Linked DNA regions of Homo sapiens: regions 1 and 3 are each linked to region 2. The links are contacts of gene promoters, found by promoter capture Hi-C in human tissues and cell types (Jung and others, 2019). All regions are on one chromosome and are shown on one strand. Each heading gives the region's core, a stretch centred on a gene start or on the middle of the fragment in contact. The rest is flanking DNA. Distances are from core to core; before and after follow the strand shown. Region 1 overlaps NF1 (neurofibromin 1). Region 2 holds the start of CPD (carboxypeptidase D). Region 3 holds the start of CORO6 (coronin 6).

What was found. The method cuts DNA at HindIII sites, captures the fragments that hold promoters and counts their contacts. A contact is called where the count stands out against the background at its distance.
Region 1: a fragment that was not itself captured here is called in contact with the fragment with the promoter of CPD in region 2 in 1 of the 25 tissues and cell types used here (dorsolateral prefrontal cortex).
Region 3: the fragment with the promoter of CORO6 here is called in contact with the fragment with the promoter of CPD in region 2 in 1 of the 25 tissues and cell types used here (dorsolateral prefrontal cortex).

What each region holds. Positions count from the first base shown.
Region 1 is chr17:31,309,584-31,312,514 of GRCh38, reverse strand. All of the region lies in intron 36 of NF1 (neurofibromin 1), which reads right to left. The region is part of intron 1 of EVI2B (ecotropic viral integration site 2B); the gene reads left to right. Among named protein-coding and RNA genes, the nearest start is that of EVI2B, 3.0 kb to the left of the region's middle. RefSeq lists an enhancer at 1,234-1,313. The HindIII fragment of the contact is 2,821 bases long and covers 1-2,774 here.
Region 2 is chr17:30,377,648-30,380,347 of GRCh38, reverse strand. It overlaps CPD (carboxypeptidase D), which reads right to left and starts at 1,421. Exons shown (of 21, transcript NM_001304.5): 1 at 622-1,421. The coding sequence starts at 1,367. RefSeq lists silencers at 946-1,075, 1,376-1,615 and enhancers at 593-1,520, 1,666-1,835. The HindIII fragment of the contact is 4,583 bases long and covers 1-2,700 here.
Region 3 is chr17:29,621,584-29,624,541 of GRCh38, reverse strand. It overlaps CORO6 (coronin 6), which reads left to right and starts at 1,630. Exons shown (of 11, transcript NM_032854.4): 1 at 1,630-1,854. RefSeq lists an enhancer at 1-1,029 and a silencer at 1,817-1,966. The HindIII fragment of the contact is 11,130 bases long and covers 1-2,958 here.

The DNA of each region.
Region 1 (2,931 bases), core at 115-2,614, 930 kb before region 2:
TGGAGTCTCCCTCTGTCACCCAGGCTGGTGTGCAGCGGCACCATCTTGGCTCACAGGCTCACTGCAACCTCCGCCTCCCAGGGTCAAGAGATTCTTCTGCCTCAGCCTCCTGAGTAGCTGGGATTACAGGCACCCACCACCACGCCTGGCTAATTTTTTGTATTTTTAGTAGAAACGGGGTTTCACCATGTTGGTCAGGCTGGTCTTCAACTCCTGACCTCAAGTGATTGGCCCACCTCGGCCTCCCAAAGTGCTGGGATTACAGGCAGGAACCACTGCGCCTGGTCCCATACATGTTTTTAAAGGGTTAGTCCCAAATCTAAAGTTTACTAGTAGTGCCTGTGTTTTCCAGCTAATTCCCACATAATTCTACTTAGAAGGAAACTTTAATTCTGATTAAGTTTGAATTGAGAAACATAAATCTGATGCCTTTCAATGTCCAAGCTTTAAAAAAAAAATCACCACAAAATTTTCAGTAAACTTACTAAATATGACACTTTATAGAAACCATTCCAAATTCTTATAATAGTTTTCGTAGAATCAGGACTAAAATGGGTTTTCAGGTATTTCTTTCCTACCCTTTATCTAAGACTACCTACAAGTGTTATTTACGTGTAATTCCCACCAACTCACATCTCCTTCCTTCATAAAGCATTTCTATTTCATAACTTTTCTATGAAAGGCAGTATAGCACATACAGTGAAATGTGATAGAAAGAAACGGTTCTGGCACAAGATTAGCATGATTTTTGTATTAGTGCCACTACTTAGAGCTGTGATACTGCCAAGTTACCCAACATCGTGGTGTCTCAGTTTCCTTATCTGTAGGATGAAAAAACCACCACCTAGCTAATTAAAATAGGATACTGCTTAGCCTTTGGTGGGTGCTCAGTAAATGGTCACTATCATGATACAAGATGGTCATCAAATACTTCCTATTGTAGTTGAAGGTCAATTTCTCTTTCCACTTTTCCTCAAGATGCAGAATGGCTGGTTTTTTCTTTTACGGTTTCAAAACTTCACTAGTTAGAGATAATACTACTGCTAAATTTTAATCTATTATATTTGCATCACAACTTTTATTATATCAAAGTAATTGATACAGCTATCTATACTTGTCTTTTGTCTAGGATATGCTCTCCAAATCTTGATTCTCTTTAAAAGATAATGGCATACTTCCTAACATATCCAACTTAACAGCATCAATTTTAAATGCTGGACCCTTTAAGTACTTATGCATTATATTTATAAGAACATGTCTATGGCCGGGCTCGGTGGCTCATGCCTATAATTCCAGCACTTTGGGAGGCCAAGGTGGGTGGGTCACTTGAGTCCAGGAGTTCAAGGCAAGTCTGGGTGACATGGTGAAACCCCATGTCTACAAAAAATACAAAAATTAGTTGGGCGTGGTGTAGTGCACCTGCAGTTTCTAACTTCTTTAGGGAAGCTGAGGTGTGAGGAGGATCGCTTGAGCCCAGGAGGCAGAGGCTGCAGTGAGCTGAGATTGCACCACTGCACTGCAACCCGGGTGACAGAGTGAGACCCTGTCTCCAAACGGAAAAAAAAAAAAAAAAAGAACATGTCTTATACACGGGGACTCCTGCTTCACTGTAACTGTCTTTAAAATGTTTAAATTTATGTTTTTCTTTTTAAAATATTCTAAATATTCAGCAAAGAAAAAGAACCAAAATCACAGATTTAAACCTCAAAGTGCCAGCCTATAATAATGAGTAAAAACCGGCATATGAGGGCTGACAAATTTGCTTGAGCAGCAGACTAAGGGATTTCTGGAAAACTCTATATAAAACGTACACGGGTACATGGGTTCTTTGGAATAATTGCTAGGTATGCTTCTGGATAGTGTCAGGGAAAAAAAAAGGGAGAGGATGGTAAGGATACTCACAGCAGACAGGAGAGCCTGAAATGAAAGGTAAATGAATTTGAAAGGATGGTTCCTTCTGGTCCTCCATTTTAGAAAGCAAGCTCCTCTTTACTGTCTCCCTGCACTCACAAACACAGGCCAGCCACAACAGAGCAGCATTTTGCCGTTGCTTCTTTCATCTACTTCAATCATCTCCCCCCACCCCCAACTTCATTTTGCCTACTTCAATCATCTACACTGCCTTCTTGCTAATTATATAACCACTGCTTTTTTTTTCACCTGTTTATTAACTTTTCTTCTTTTCTGTATCTTCTCTAGTCAATTGACCTTCCTCTTTTCTGTTCGCTGCTTCCTAGAGTTTTTGTTTTTTCTCTTTTGTGTTATTTTGTATTTCTTTGCATTGCCTTTTATATTATTCTAAATCTCCTTTTTATTCCCCTGCCCAATATTGTTCTTTACCTACAGAAACAATGTTGGTACTTCAGGTACACACCACTTACATATTTTAAAATGTGTATGCTAAATAACCTTCCACACTGGTAGTAACGCTGGCCTCATTACCGCTGGGAAAAAAGTCAGTTTTTTCCACTACCATATTCCCTATTTATTCCTCTTTTAAATCTTTCTTCTCCTTCTCTGGACTACACTGAATTGCCATCATAGAATTCTAATACAGTTTCTAGTACTCTGATGTGGCAGATCCTAGGAGGATAAAAAGCTAACTGAAGAGTGGTAGAAAGTGTTAGGATAGGCAAAAAATGGAATTTGGTTTTAATATTGCCATAACCGTTAACTGACAAGTGAAAATCTCATACATGGAGGGTTCCACCAGCTTACTACTGACAGTAGAGGATAGGAGCCTATCAAAATTGATCTTACAAACTAACCTGGGTTTAAAATTATGTTCCTGTTTGGGCCCTGTCCTTCTCTAATGCCTTTTTCAGCTAACTGAAAAGAGGAACCGTATGGTTTCCTTATTTTAAGCAAAGTCACAAAAGAGGAAACATTTTTGGCTAAAGACAATTCATGGCTTATATTTTCTGATGCTTT
Region 2 (2,700 bases), core at 172-2,671:
GCAAGGGGAAGATCCTGGGAATATCATCTGCCATTTTTGGGCTCCAGTGTCCCTCCGTGGCTAAGAGGACTATCGGGAATCAGATTGCCTAATTCTAAGTCCCAGCCACACTCCTATGTAAATCAGTTAACCAATCTGACCCTCAATTTCCCCGTATGCAAAACTGATGGTGTCTATGACATCAGGTTGTGGCCAAAATAAAGTGAGATACTGCAGTCACAGAAAAAATTAGCACAGCGCCTATAACATTAGGCACTTTTGATATAAGATAACAACATTGACAGCTTATCTATAAAATGTGTGAGCTGACCTAGGTTATCCTTAAGATCTCTTCTCGCTCATATTCTATGCCCCTGTAAGAATAGGGACCAGAAATGTCAGAAAGGAGTGTCCCCTCCAGCCATCCCTTGAACAAATGACAGCCTCTAGGAGGCAATTCTTTGATGATTAGCAGGACGGGAGGCTACGCGGCCTGGGCCCTGTCCCCGTTACAGGGTGTCTCCCTTCACCTTCACCACCGCCACCCCTTATGCCAGCATTGTCTGAGCGCCTACTGGGTGCCGGAACCAGCCTCGGCCCTTGGAGGCTCACACGGACGGGGAGGGGGCAGGCAACACTCACTTGTTCCTGCGGATCCACTCGATGAGGGCGCGCACCTCGGGCACCTCGTCCAGGGCGGGGGGTTCGCCGGTGCTAAACTGGTCGGGAAAGCTTCGGTTGAGGTCGCGGCCGCGACTATTGTCGCGGCCGCTGGCCCCGGACGGGCCGCCGTCGCCGAAGCCACAGTCGCCCTCGCGGGCACGCTCGAAGCCATCGGGGTTGAGGCTGGGCAGCAGGTACACGTCGGTGGTGTTGAGCAGGCGGACCAGGCGCGGGTCCCCGCGGCGGTAGCCGGCCGCCAGCTCGCGGGCCAAGTAGATCAACACCTGGCGCGACACGGTCTCGTCGCCATGCATGTTGCCCACCAGCTTCACCTGGGGCCGGCCGGGCAGCAGCGGCCCCGCAGCGTCGGGCCCGGCAGCGTCAGGCCCCGCGTCGCCCTCAGGGATTAGCGACCCCAGGCCGGCGGTGAGGCGAAGCACCCACAGCGGCCGGCCTTCCACCGAGCGGCCGATGCTAAAGAGGCGGGCCAGGCCGGGGAGGCCCGCGGCCGCCGCCTCCCTCAGCGCCGACTCCAACTCCTCTTCGTGGTAGTAGCGGTCGAACTGGCCCTCGGCCGCCTCGGCGCCCGCGCTCGTAGTTGTGGTAGTCGCCTCCGCCTTCTTGATGTGAGCCGCCCGGGCCGAGCTCCCCAGCAGCAGCAGGCACATGAGCAACAGGAGCCGCCCTAGCCGCCAAGGCGGCCGCTCGTCCCGGCCGCTCGCCATCTTCCAGCAGCGCCGCTAACCCCGGCTCCGCTCCCGCGGCTCAGCGCTCCGGGCGGCGGGGGCCCGCCGGATCCCCTCCTCGCCTAGCAACCCCATCCCGCCCTCTGGCCGCAGCCAATCGCGGACGGGCCTGGTGGAGCGTCACCACCAGGGGGCGGGGCTTCCCTTAAAGCAGCCGATTCCCTCTGGGCGGGCCTGCCCTCCTCCCGTCCGGGACGAGTTTGGTCACTCTCTTCCTTCGCCAAGGTTCTTCTTCTCTTCTCCTCCTCCTTGTTTCGTCTTCTGCGTGTGCTCCGCTTCTCGCTTAGTCTCTTCTTTATGGCTTCTCCCCTAAATTATCACCCATTTTTCTCTGAGAACTCCTGCTAGTTCTCTTCCCATCTTTGTTGCTGCCTTTCTCAGCTGCGCTTTAATGCTTAGAACCGAGAATGGAAAGAATCAAAAGGTTCGAAAGAATCATAAGACTAGAAAAAATCAATAGGTTCGAAAGAATCTTCGTTCGGACACTCAAAGCCTTAGCCCAGTCTCCTAGGCGCCTTGTCTCCGCATCCACCCCGCCTCCGCTGGAGCCCCGCTGTCCGCGTGCGGTTGCACGGGACGCCTCGTGGGGAGGAAGGCTCGCACCTCACTAGGCGGTGCATTCATTTTTAGAGTTGCTTTCTGGAAAGGTGTCTCTTTTATGCCTAGCGGAAATGTGCTACGTAGTAGGCTCCCTTTGTGTTAATGTTGTCTATTTCTTAGGCGTCACCCCACGTTGTTTTACTGCAAATAGGTCCCTGTGTGTGCTGGCCTCGACCCTCATTAGGCAGATTTCATTTCACAGCTCACCGGCCCACTTCTCCCACCTCATCGGAGCAAGTTGTATATTTAACTGTGCCCTGGAATGACATATTTTAAAACAGCAGGTTTGACATTTCTGGAAACACTTGCTTGGCATTCCTGAACTCCTCAGTGTCAGCCAAAGATGGCAATTACAGCGTTTCATCAAGTCTAGAGAAGAGGTCTTTTAAATCACCTTTTATAGGCTTTAGTTTCTTTAGCTTGAAGAAACCCAAAACTATCCCTTAATCGAATGCGAAATTCTACCCATCTAACAACATAATCGCAATAACCGGCATTACCTTCTTTCAGAGCCAGCTATTTCAGGGCCCCTTCCCTGAACTATGACTGAACCCTACTTTAATAGAGTTCATTCATTCGTCAAGTATTTATTGAGCAACTTTTATGTCAAAGCTAGATGCTGGGAAACAATTCATTCTTCTGCCCAGTCAAGAGATTCAGTGTAGTTTGTGATAAATGCTACAACAGAGGGGGTACAGGTGAGGGAAATATC
Region 3 (2,958 bases), core at 381-2,880, 760 kb after region 2:
CAGTGGCATGATCTCAGCTCACTGCAACCTCTGCCTCCTAGGTTCAAGCAATTCTCGTGTCTCAGCCTCCTGAGTAGCTGGGATTACAGGTGTGCATCACCACACCTGGCAAATTTTTGTATTTTTAGTAGAGATGGGGTTTTGCCATGTTGGCCAGGCTGGTCTCGAACTCCTGACCTCAGGTGATCCACCTGCCTCAGCCTCCCAAAGTGCTGGGATTACAGGCGTTAGCCACCCGCGACCAGCCTAGAGGATTGTTAAGAGTATGAAATTAATACGTATAAAGCCCTTAGTGCCAGTGCCTAGCACATAAGCATGGGTTATTGTTGTAAAGGAGCAACTGAGTCACTCAGGTATTTTCCTCCTAATCATGTGCCTGGAATCTTTAGGTAAAAGAGAGATGACTCACATACCCTCATACCCTGCCCCAGCACCCCTACGCCAGGAGTTATTTCTGGAGCACTCGTAACAGTTTTTTATTCTGTTCCCCTACAAGCCACTGACTCTTGATTTGATTCTGTCCCTACAAGCCACCTGGACTCTTCCTGAGAAACAAAGGAGCCTCGTGGGCCCTTCATGGTTTCTACCACCTTCCCTCCCTTTCCTCCCCAGTGCTGGTTCCTGCCCTTCAGAAGGCTGTGTTCCATTCACTCACTCCCAGGTGTGCCCTGGAGGGTGGGAAGTAATAACTGGCCCCAGATGCCCTTATGATCCAAGGGAAGAAATCCAGGCAATGTGCAGACACTGGGTAGACTGGAGCTACGGGACTGGCTGGTCTTCACTGGCTGTATTTTGATCAGGTTATCTTTAATCTCCTTGACCTCGGTCAACATTCAGTTCTGTGAATATTGGGGGAGACGGGGGAAGCTTACCTGGAACACAGTCGGGCGCCAATTCAAACAAGGCCCAGAAAACATTAGGAGTCTGGCCTCTGAGTTGGCTTCTCTGACCCCTAAAATGTGACTAGAGACCGGTGCTAGCCTCTTCCCCCTGCATCTGGGAGGGGAGGGAGTGTCAAGGTGGGTTCACTTTACACTCGGTCCTCCCCTTGTTCTTTCAGCTGCTTCCTGCCCTGCTCCATGGAATCTCATCTAATGGGGTGAAATGCCTAGCACACAGCCAGCATTTTAGGTTTCTCAAATGATCGCTATTGCCATTCATAACAATAACTAACATTCACAACCCTGTGTCGGGTGCCCTCTCACTTGCCCTACATCAGGATCAGCCTGGGTCCTCATTCTCTAGGGCCTCTTTCCCCCAGGGAGGCCTGGAAGTGCAGTCCCGCAGTCCCGGCCGATCGGGACAGCTAAATTGGGAGCGCGATTGAGGCTGGAATGCGGGTGGAGGCACCTGGTCTCCCTCGGCTGCCCGCTCTAGGGGCGCACGCCCCCTCGCCCGTTCCCTCTCCAAGCGTCCTGCTCTAGGTCTGCGAACCCGAGCCTCCCCAGCCTACCCGGGAGTCATGGAGGGAGGGAAGCAGCGTGCGCACCTAGCACACAGCTGCACATTTATTTTCGATGGTTCTCCGAGGCCGGCGGAAGCTGGGAGGGGAGTCGGGGTCGCTCGACTTTCCCGCCGCTGGAGGGGGCGGGGCAACTTGGGCTCTGGCCCCGCCCCTATGCTAGCCCCGCCCTCTTAGGTTGATGGCAGCGGCAGCTGGGGCTGCAGCGGCGCCGGGCTCTAGAGAGCCGCAGGATCGGCCAGAGTGCGGAGCTGGACACCCGGGTCCCAGATACTACAGACACCCGGAGAGGTGGCTCCTTCGCCCTGAAGCCTTCCTCGGCCCCCTACGCACTCGGGCCCCTTCCGCAGAGGATTCGCAGCGTGAGCGCCCCGCAGCCCGCTCAGGACCAGGTACCCAGCCCCCCACACCCGGCCGTCACCGCAGCCAGCGGAGCGGGCGGGGTCCCTGAGGGGCAGAGGTCTGCGCCTCCTCCCCCCGCGCCGCCAAATTCGGTTTCGGGCGGGGAGGACGTGGTGTCTATATTTGGCCGGACAGCAGCCAGCGCTCCCGGAGGGCGCAGACACCTCGTCTCGCAAGAACGCAGTGTCAGGGCAGCAGGCTGAAGAAGGGTGCAGGGAGGCCGGGCCTCAGGCTCGGGGCCGCAGACGCGCCTTGAAGGGCACACGGATGCTGGGGCTGGGGTGGGGCAGGAGCCACTGGCTGGGGCTTTGGGAGTGCTCAGTGTGTCCTCTAGGGAGACCCTAGCTGGAGAAAAGGCACCTCACCCTCCCCACCCCTGCAAATCTGGCTTGGCCGTGGCGGGGGCAGGGGTGGAGGATGGGGTTGAAGACCCCACCCCTAGAAGAGTTCACTAGGAAGAAGGCCCAACCAGGGCAGAGGACCCAGAGGAGAAACCGGACAAGCCTATGGTAGGCAAAAGCCAGAAGACCATGATCAGGGCTTCCTGGAGAAGCCAGTGCAGAAAGGAGTGGGAGAAGAGGGATCCACCTCACTCTGTGCTGCCACCCGTCCCCCCACAAGGCATGGGATGAAAACAGTAGCAGAAAGGACTCAGATTGGTGGACAGGAGGAACTTCCCCCTTGGCAAAATTTTAGGAAAAGGCAAAACCCCATCTGCCTGAACTATTCCAGAGATGCGAGTTCGGTATCCTGTGGTGGCTGCAGTCTTGGCCCCATACCTGGCTTTAAGCCAAGATCCAATGGTCAAGTCTTCTGCTTCTGGACAGGGTGCCTCTGGGAGCTACAACCACGTCCGTGAAGAGATGCTCATCAAGGCTGGCGGTGGTGGGGGCGGGGGGTGCAGGCAGTGTGGCATTGAGGCTCCTCCCAAAAACATTCCAACGTCCAGAAAGCTTTCAGTCTGTTAGGCTCCACAATCCCCTCAGCCTGGGTCTCTGTGGAGAATTCAGGCCCCAAATCCTAGCCACTTACATTAAACAGCATTTTACACAGCAAAATAACTTTCCCATACTTTGACCACCTTGAAGAAAGCT